2 separate regions of the Homo sapiens genome follow, and region 2 is linked to region 1. Evidence: promoter capture Hi-C in human tissues and cell types (Jung and others, 2019). All regions are on one chromosome and are shown on one strand. Each heading gives the region's core, a stretch centred on a gene start or on the middle of the fragment in contact. The rest is flanking DNA. Distances are from core to core; before and after follow the strand shown.

The links. The method cuts DNA at HindIII sites, captures the fragments that hold promoters and counts their contacts. A contact is called where the count stands out against the background at its distance.
Region 2: a contact is called between a fragment that was not itself captured here and the fragment with the promoter of ANKRD16 in region 1, in 1 of the 25 tissues and cell types used here (spleen).

Annotation. Positions count from the first base shown.
Region 1 is chr10:5,886,214-5,891,297 of GRCh38, reverse strand. ANKRD16 (ankyrin repeat domain 16) reads left to right here and starts at 1,405. Exons shown (of 8, transcript NM_019046.3): 1 at 1,405-2,257; 2 at 3,231-3,451. The coding sequence starts at 1,944. It overlaps FBH1 (F-box DNA helicase 1), which reads right to left and starts at 1,055. Exons shown (of 21, transcript NM_178150.3): 1 at 952-1,055. The coding sequence starts at 952. RefSeq lists silencers at 623-672, 863-1,582, 1,723-1,832, 1,843-2,122. The HindIII fragment of the contact is 15,491 bases long and covers 1-5,084 here.
Region 2 is chr10:6,413,047-6,417,887 of GRCh38, reverse strand. It overlaps a transcript of PRKCQ not described here. Among named protein-coding and RNA genes, the nearest start is that of LINC02656, 65 kb to the right of the region's middle. The HindIII fragment of the contact is 9,433 bases long and covers 1-4,841 here.

The DNA of each region.
Region 1 (5,084 bases), core at 156-2,655:
GAGGCTATCCACATCACTGTTACCTTAACCAAACTCAATCTGCTCATGAGTAAAACGGACTTATCTTCATGGGCCCATTCCAGAAGTCTTTTCATTTATCTCCGCTCATTTTACCACAGCGGCAGACGCTGGCGGACACTCAACACATGCTACCATCCTGCCTTCCAGAAGACTTTATTACCTGTAATTCTGTAAGAAAGTCACTGACTTGGTTAGGCCTCCACTTCCCCACCTGTAAAACCCTACTGATGCCTCATAGGGTTGTCTTCGGACCACAGACTGCAATAAAAAATGTAAACGGCACTCGTTTTTAGGCCTGGCAAATAGGAGCTACTCCCATTCTACTCCCTAAAGGAATCGAAAACATGGAGAGGTTAAGTGACTGGCACCTAATCAGATCGGGTAAGGAACCCAACACCTACTGATCTCTTCCATCACCCACAGCCTGCCCAGCTCTCGCCGTGCCCTCCACCAGCGCCAGGCCTCCCACATCGCCTTAGGCTTCCCATGCTCAGAGGAGGGGCAGAGAAGCTACCGATGACACAGGGGCAGAGGGCAGCGAAAAATGACTTGCCCAAGGTCAAAACGTCAGAGTAGACGGGAAAGCCTGGCCTCCTAGCAGCCGAGGCCACGTCCCCGCGCTTGCCCCTTCAGCCCCGAGGACCCACACGCTGCGCCTTCCTGGCCTCGGGGGGCAGCGCGGGGGCCGCTCCCGACCGAGTTCAGTGAGCGCCCTGGCCTCCCCCGCGCACCCCCGCCGCGCCCTCCACCTGCCCACGGCCCGGACGGCCGAGCCCCCACGCCCGCGCTTGCCCGAGCCCAGCCTCGCGCCCCCGGGGCCCCCGCTGCCCCACCCCGGGCCCGGACCCCCCGCGCAGGACCCCGGAGGTTAAGTTTTCCACACGGCGGAGCCCCTCCCACACTCCCTGCCACGTCTGCGGCCTCACGCACTGTGGCGCTCCGGACCCGGACCCCGCTGCCGCCGCCGCCGGGCCCGCGCCGCCGGCCGCTCAGCCCAGCGTCCCCCGGCAGCGAGCTCCTCCTCTGGCCGGGACCTGGAGCCCGAGACGCCCGCCGACTTCCTCCGCGAGCTCCGCCCCGCCGCAGCCCCGGGAAGCGCCCGCCGCCGGAGCCGGACTGACGGCCCCCGCGACCAATCGGGACGCGAGACCGGAGGGGGCGTGCTGACGGACGGCCACTAACGCCAATCGAAATGCGCAATCGGTGGGGGCGCGGCCACAGCTACCGGGCCACGCCCCATCCGCGCTTCCGCTCGGGCCGGGGCGGAGCGGGAAACTTTCCCAGAGTTCCTTCGAGCTCCCCGAGTCCCCGCGGAGCAGCGGCGGTCGAGGGGCGGGGACGGGGGCGGAGCCCAGGAACGCCGGCCCCCAGGGGCTGGAGGCTGGGGCGGCCCTGAGGACGCGTGCGGGGCAGGTCACGCTTGGGCCTGGCTGCCTCAGGAGCCACCCTGCACGGCGCCGGGCGAGGCTGTGCGCGCCCTCCCGGACCCTCCACTTTGGGGCTTTGCGGTGTAGCGGCGCGCCCCACTCCCTTACGTGTTCAGTCCCGAATCACGTACGGGCCGCTGCAGCTCCAGGACGGCGGACGCCAGCGCTCTCGGATCCCCAGGCCCCTCCGTGCTCATCCCGGACCGCTCCGTCCCTGAGGAAAAACCGCCCCGTGCCCGGAACCGCGGCTTCTCCCACGCGGGGCAGGCCGGGGCTGTGAGGGGGCAGCCCGCCTGCGGACTAGGCCGGGGGTTTGAGGAGGCGGCTCTGCCGGGGACAAAGCCGGGGGCGTGAGGGGCGGTTCTGCCGGGTTCGGGGCGCGCGGGGCAGGTTGCGTGAAGAGGCGGAAAGTCCCACTCGCCCTCGGCTTCTCCCTGCCCGGCCGCCGGTGTCCCGCCCGCCGCCTCCCCGCGCAGCCCGGCCCGACCCGCGGCGATGGCCCAGCCCGGGGACCCGCGGCGCCTCTGCAGGCTGGTGCAGGAGGGCCGGCTGCGCGCCCTGAAGGAGGAGCTGCAGGCGGCCGGGGGCTGCCCGGGGCCGGCCGGGGATACCCTCCTGCACTGCGCCGCGCGCCACGGGCATCGGGACGTGCTGGCCTATCTGGCCGAGGCCTGGGGCATGGACATCGAGGCCACCAACCGAGACTACAAGCGGCCTCTGCACGAGGCGGCCTCCATGGGCCACCGAGACTGCGTGCGCTACCTGCTGGGCCGGGGGGCAGCGGTCGACTGCCTGAAGAAGGCCGACTGGTAGGTGTGGAGCGGAAAGACACCCCGCCTCCCCTCTACTCGCAGAGTCGTAGCGAGTTCCCTGTGCTTCTCCGTCCCCTTGGACACCGTAGCTGTTCTCAGCTCCTAGTTCTCACCCCAGGCCTGCTCAGCGGCAGGGACCTCCTGCCCAACTTTCCCTTATAACGCAGATGACCTGCAGAGTCCCTCGTTCCTGCCCTTGTGGGTTAACTGGTCGGGGCAGTCACCTCCCTTTCTAGAGCACGGAATAGTGTAGAATATAACCAAAGAGAATGTTACCAAACAATGAAGTGTGTGCACTATACAGATAGCCTCCGGATGCGATGTTCTGGGGACATTTAGCTAAGTTACTTCTGCACCAATGCATTGTTTCAAGTGGCATTGCTCCAATCAATATCCAGAATTCCTGAGTTATACACGCGCTCGTGTGTGTAGAGCACAGTGCAGTTGTATCACATACGTGCAGCCTTGCATAACCACCACAGTCAGAGATACTCTGCTCCACCATCACACAAGCCAATTGCATTTCGTTTGTTAGATTGACACTGATTTTAGTACTCACTAGGTCAGGTTCGTTAGAGGGCGTGAACATCTTTAGGAACATAGGGAAGTACATCTTCCCCACTGGGGCAGGGGAATAGACTTCGTTATGTGTTGAGGGTTGTCTGTGGGTTTTCTTAGCTCTGCTCCAATTCACTGCTATCCTGTGAACTAGCTTATAAGCTGCTTTGTCTCCCAGGCACCCTCTCCTCTAGGTACACGTTCGTTACAATCATTTTCCCCTTATTATTTCTCCCAGGGTCCTCACAGAAGGCACAGAGGTTGCCGGTCAAAGCTGTTTTCCTGCCTGCCAGACCCCTGAATCCTCTAGGTTTTCCATCTGTGCCAAGGATGTGTGTGTTTTGAAGACCTGGCCCCTGGCTTCTAATGTCTCAGCTGCCTCCATCTGACAGCTTCTCCTGGTTGGCCTTAGGACTCCTCTGATGATGGCCTGCACAAGGAAGAACCTGGGGGTGATCCAGGAGCTGGTGGAACATGGCGCCAATCCACTCCTGAAGAACAAAGATGGCTGGAACAGTTTCCACATTGCCAGTCGAGAAGGCGACCCTCTGATCCTCCAGTACCTGCTCACTGTTTGCCCAGGTGCCTGGAAGACAGAGAGCAAAATTAGAAGGACTCCTCTGCATACTGCAGGTACAGCCTACAGCTCTGCAGGTGAGCAGTACACACATGTGGCTGCTTCACCCAGCACTGCCCAACCGCATCTTGTTCAGGTCACCTTCAGGGGAAAGGAGGATTTTGGAAAACAGAAGGCAGAGAATAAGAACATCTGGGGGGGAGGGGGTGGGGGCGGGGGCGCGGGTGCAGTGGCTCACGCCTGTAATCCCAGCACTTTGGGAGGCCGGAGGCGGGTGGATCACCTGAGGTCAGGCGTTCAAGACCAGCCTGGCCAACATGGTGAAACGCCGTCTCTACTAAAAATACAAAAAATTAGCCGGGCGTGGTGGCGGCTGCTTGTAATCCCAGCTACTGGGGAGCTCCAGAGTCTGAGGCAGGAGAATGGCTTGAACCCAGGAGGCAGAGGTTGTACTAAGCCAAGATTGCACTACATTACACTACAGCCTGGGCAACAAGAGCAAAACTCCATCTCAAAAAAAAAAAAAAAGCATCTAGGGGCCTTTTGGCATATAATCAATTTCTAAAGTTAACATAACTTGGCTAGCATGCTGTGGTATTAATTTATTTTTCGTGTGTATCTGTGTTATCCTCCCTAGATTATTTGCCCATGAGCTGGTTCTGTAGCACATAGTCTTTGACCTTGGGTAAGGAAATTAGTCTCTCTCTTGAGCAAGTTTCCTCATCAACCAAATAATAATGTCAGTGATGGTATGTCTCAGGGTTGTTGTAGAGTTTAAAGAGCATGATGTATGTAAATCCTTTAGACAATGCTTGGCACATAGCACAAAATAACTGGTTAGTGCTATTTTCTTTATCATGTTTACATTCTTACTCTTAAAGGCAGGAGGGAAATATATATCCTCATAGCCTTAGTAACACCTACCATAGTGCTATACTTTTAAATAAATATAGATACTCATAATTAAATACCTTGGCCCAATAACATCTAATGTAAATTTGGGTTACAGTTTTTATTATTTGGAGTAGTGACTCTTAACTCTGAATTATCTATTTGTAGATTATTTTAGTAAAAAGTTTCAATTTGCTCATTTGTTTGAAGAAAGTAAAAAGAAAACAATTAGTAAAAAGTAAAATTACTGTAATTTCAGAAGTTAGATATTAAGGAGCTCAAGAGTCTAGATTAAGAAATTCAGAATATAACTTGTAGCTTTCTAGGTAGTACATTGATTAGGATAGAGGGCTTTTAGTTTCTCTAAAAATCATCACTTGTGATGTTTTATAGTGTTGCTTTTTGTCTTTTGTTTTTTTTTGAGACAGAGTCTTGCTCTGTCACCCAGGCTGGAATACAGTGGCACGATCTCGGCTCACTGCAACCTCTGCCTCGCAGGTTCAAGCAATTCACGTGCCTCAGTCTCCCGAGAAGCTGGGATTACTGGCGCATGCCACCATGCCCAGCTAATTTTCATATTTTTAGTAGAGATGGGGTTTCCCCTTGTTGGCCAGGCTGGTCTTGAACTCCTGACCTGAAGTGATCCACCCACCTTGGCCTCCCAAAGTGCTGGGATTACAGGCATGAGCCACAGTTGGCAATTAGGGACCAAGGAATCATTTCTAAAACTTCTTAAGTAAGTAGAAAACTTTTTTTTAGCTCATGAATTATTTGACCAGTTTCTCCCCTGGAGAAACA
Region 2 (4,841 bases), core at 2,342-4,841, 520 kb before region 1:
TGGGAGCAAGCACTGTTGAGAAGCTGGAGATGTAGGAATGACATTAAAAATCTAAAGTTACTTCAGCCACTAGAGAGCCAAGGGACATGGAGTGACAGGAAGGACTCCAACAGAACTCACTGTTTCCCTTCTCCCAGCATGTCCTGGCTGCTCACCTGGCTGGATACTCTCACCTGGCTGTGCACCTGGATTCTCGACTGAATGTTCACGTGGCCACTCTATCGTCCAGCTAAGGCAACATTGGAAGCTCAGGGTCTAAGGCAGCCACCATCGGGGAAGATGCCAGGACAAGCATGGATGGATCAACAGATTCTGAGCATCACGCTGGCATCGTTTTAGATCGCACGCATTCCGAACATCAGAACAGTTACGTCAATTCGAATTTGGGGTTTGACCGAAATTGAACTTGAATGTGGATTATCTAAGTAAAATCTAGAGAAGAAAAGAATTTCTCTGCAGGTGCATGTAATAATCACCACAAGGTTATTGTTTTTTGTTTTTGGTTTGGTTTTTTTCCAGTGCTGCAGGCTTTAAGAAGCTCTGGGTGTCCAACCAAAGACACAAATCTGAAAAACAAGTGGAAAATCTAACTCCAGCAAAGCCTACTCAAATTTCAGTCAGTATTTCAAAATAACAACTGATGACATCCACCCAACAGAAACTAGAAACTACCCACTTTTAACTGCCCCTGTTTTCCTCCTCGACCCTCTCCTCCTCCCACTTAAGGACAAGACACCTATTTCATGTTGCCATGGAAATTGTGCTTTTAAGGTTTTCCTGAGATAACATTGGTTATATGGTGAGGTGGAGACCTCTAGTGTCCCAAACTTGTATTTCCTTTAAGAATACATTACAGGAGTGGTGTCTAGGATGGTGAATTTATCAAGAGGAAAGTTGAGCCTGCTGACCAGGTCTGGCTATAAAATGACCAAATCCCAGAGTGAAATAAGAAGAAGAATCATACCACCTTACTCCTGCAAGAATGATCATAATTTAAAAGTCAAAAAATAATAGATGTTGGCAGGGATGTGGTGAAAAGACAACACTTTTACGCTGCTGGTGGGAATGTAAACTAGTACAACCACTGTGGAAAACAGTGTGGAGATTCCTTGAAGAACCAAAAGTAGAACTACCATTCAATCCAGCAATCCCACTACTGGGTGTGTACCCAAAGGGAAAAAAAGTCCTTCTATGAAAAAGACATTTGCACATGTATGCTTATAACAGCACAATTCACAACTGCAAAGATATGAAACCAACCTAAGTGCCCATCAACCAATGAGTGCATAAAGAAAATGTGGTCTATATACACCATAGCACACTACTCAGCCATAAAAAGGAATGAAATAATGTCTTTTGCAGCAACTTGGATGGAGCTAGAGACAATTATTATAAGTGAAGTAACTCAGGAATGGAAAACCAAACATCATATGTTCTCATTTATAAGTAGGAGCTAAGCTATGAGGATGCAAAGGCATAAGAATGAAATAATGGACTTTAGGGACTCAAGGGGAAGGGTGGAGGGGCTGAGGGACAAAGGTCTGCACAGTAGGTACAGTGCACACTGCTCAGGTAATGGGTGCACCAAAATCTCAGAAATCACCGCTAAAGAACGTATCCATGTAACCAAAAACCACCTGCACCCCCAAAAAAACTATTGAAATAAAAAATTCAATTAAATTTTAAAAAAAGAAGAATCTTTGTATTTTGCACTCATTGTATGTCTGCTCAATCATATCAAGAATCCAAATGGCTATATCCTAATAAATATTTGATTCCTACAGGCTTATTTGCCAAGTATTCTATAAAGTGGTCCATTCCTTTTTCAAAAGAGGAAAACAGGCCAGGCATGGTGGCTCATGCCTGTAATCCCAGCACTTTGAGAGGTCGAGTCGGGCATATCACCTGAGGTCAGGAATTCAAGACCAGCCTGGCCAATATAGTGAAACCCCATCTCTACTAAAAATACAAAAAATTAGCCAAGCATGTTGGAGGACACCTGTAATCCCAGCTACTCAGGAGACTGAGGCAGGAGACTCTCTTGAACCCAGGAGGCGGAGGTTGCAGTGAGCCAAGATCACACCACTACACTCCAGCCTGGGCAACACAGCAAGAGACTCTGTCTCAAAAAAAAAAAAAAAGAGAGAGAGAGAGAGAAACATTAGCAGCAATTGTCAACAATGGGGCTTCATTTATAATTTGACCCAAACAATCCCAGAATAGTACAAACATATGGTTCTGGGGATCTCAGCGCAGAGGGAATTCTACAATGGCAGTGACCAGACTTTAACCACTGGTGTGCAGTATGACTTGTTCCCTCCACCTTACCACAAGCTTGTTCTCATGCCTTCACCTCCTTAAGCTAAATTAGAAAGTTCTTAACCTGAAGTTCATGAATGAGCTGAAATTTCCTGTAAATTTTGAGTAAGTGTATATATATATATATATATATATATATATATATATATATATATATATATATGTATTTTCTTGGGCTTAAGATTTTCTCTTTATCACTAGGTTTAAGAAATTTGATTACAATATGTGTTGGTATCGTTTTCTTTGGTTTCTTGTGCTTGGGGTTCATTGAGCTTATTGGGTGGTGTGGATTTAAAGTCTTCATCAGGCCAGGCGCAGTGGCTCACACCTGTAATTCTAGCATTTTGGGAGGCCGAGGCGGGTGGATCACTGGAGCTCAGGAGTTGAAGACCAACCTGGCCAACATGGCAAAACTCCATCTCTACTAAAAATGCAAAAATTAGCTGGGCATGGTGGCTCACAACTGTAGTCCCAGCTACTCGGGAGGCTGAAGCTGGAGAATAGCTTGAACCCAGGAGACGGAGGTTGCAGTGAGTGGAGATTGCACCACCGCACTCCAGCCTGGGTGACAGAGCAAGATTCTGTCTCAAAAAAAAATTAAATTAAAATTAAAAAATAAAGTCTTCATCATACTTGGAAAGTTGGAGGCCATTATTTCTTTAAATGTATTTTCTGTCTCCTCCTCCTTTGGGTCTCCAATTGCATATATATTTGGCCACTTGAAGTAATCCCATAGTTCATTGATGTTATGGGGGTTTTCTTTCTTTTTTTTTTTTCTTTATCACTTTTATCTCAGGGTCTTGGATAATTTCTATTGCTATGTTTTCAGATGTACAAATCTTTACATGCATACAAATATTTTCTTTGTAATATCTAATCTCCCATTAATCCTAATCAATGTATTGATTATCTCAGACATTATAGTTTTCACCTCTAGAACTTCAATTGTTAAGAGATATTTTATGTCTAGACTTAATGTGTTCAATACTTCTAGCTTTTTGAATGTATGGAATGCAGTTATAATAATACATTGAATGTCCTTGTCTATTAATTTTATTATCTGTGTCATTTTGGGGTCAGTTTGATTTGTTGATTCGTCCCCTCCTCATTTATTTTTCTGTTTCTTTGTGTGCCCGGTAATTCGTTATTAATGTTGAATGTCAATACTTTTTCTTTGGTGAGAACTGGACATTTCTGTATTCTTAAAAACAGTTTTGAGCTTTGTTTTGTGATGTGGTAAAGTTACTTGGAAATTGGTACTTTCAGATCTTGCTTTAAATTTTACTGGAAAAGATCAACAAAATGTTTGATCTAAGGGTAGTTTTCCCCACTGCTTAAGATCTCCTGCAGACCTCAGGATTTCCCTTTCTCCAGTCACTGCCCTGTGAGCCCCAGCTGCCTGGGACCCTCTGGACTCTCTGTTCTACCTACATGACTCAGGGAACCTTCCGGAGTCACCTTGAGTTCCCCACGCATTTGCTGTGCCCTTGAAACCTTCTCCAGGTAGGAAAGTGCTACAATCTTGGGGATCACCTTATTTGCTCCCCATCTTTCAGGGACCACTGAGATTCTTTCTGACCTGATGTCCAATGTCGTCAGGGCTGTTATTTATTGTTAGATTTTGGTTGTTTCTGGTGGGAAGGCAAATCCAGTTCCTGTTACTTCACCTTGGCCAGCAGTGGAAAGCTCAAATATTTTTCTTTTAGCTGTTTAATCCAGTGCTTCCTAGTGTGTGTGTGTGTGCACGCGCACAAGTGGCATTTAATCCAGTGCTTCCTAGTGTGTGTGTGTGCACAAGTGGCATTTAATCCAGTGCTTCCTAGTGTGTGTGTGTGTGCGCGCGCACAAGTGGCATTTAATCCAGTGCTTCCTAGTGTGTGTGTGTGCACAAGTGGCATTTAATCCAGTGCTTCCTAGTGTGTGTGTGTGTGCACAAGTGGCATTTAATCCAGTGCTTCCTAGTGTGTGTGTGTGTGTGTGCACAAGTGGCATTTAATCCAGTGCTTCCTAGTGTGTGTGTGTGTGTGTGTGCACAAGTGGCATTTAATCCAGTGCTTCCTAGTGTGTGTGTGTGTGTGTGTGTGTGTGTGTGTGACATAATTTTTTATCCTCCCATGTCTACATCTTCCTAAGGATTAAAAATATTCATGTTGAAGAATAGGTTGTTGCAGAGGAGCCCAGGGAATGTAGGGAGATACTGTTTTTATTGGTGACATTGATGAGAAGTTTTAATATTTATATTTCATTTGTTTTTGCTGTTTAAAGTAAGCCTAACTTTTTTAGAGTGGTTGAAAACATAGAAAATTGTGATGTTTAAGGCCGGGCAGAGTGGCTCACGCCTGTAAGCCCAGCACTTTGGGAGGCCTAGGCGGGCTGATCACAAGGTCAGGAGATCAAAACCATCCTGGCTAACATGGTGAAACCCCGTCTCTACTAAACATACAAAAAATTAGCCGGGCGTGGTGGCGGGTGCCTGTAGTCCCAGCTATTCAGGAGGCTGAGGCAGGAGAATGGCGTGAACC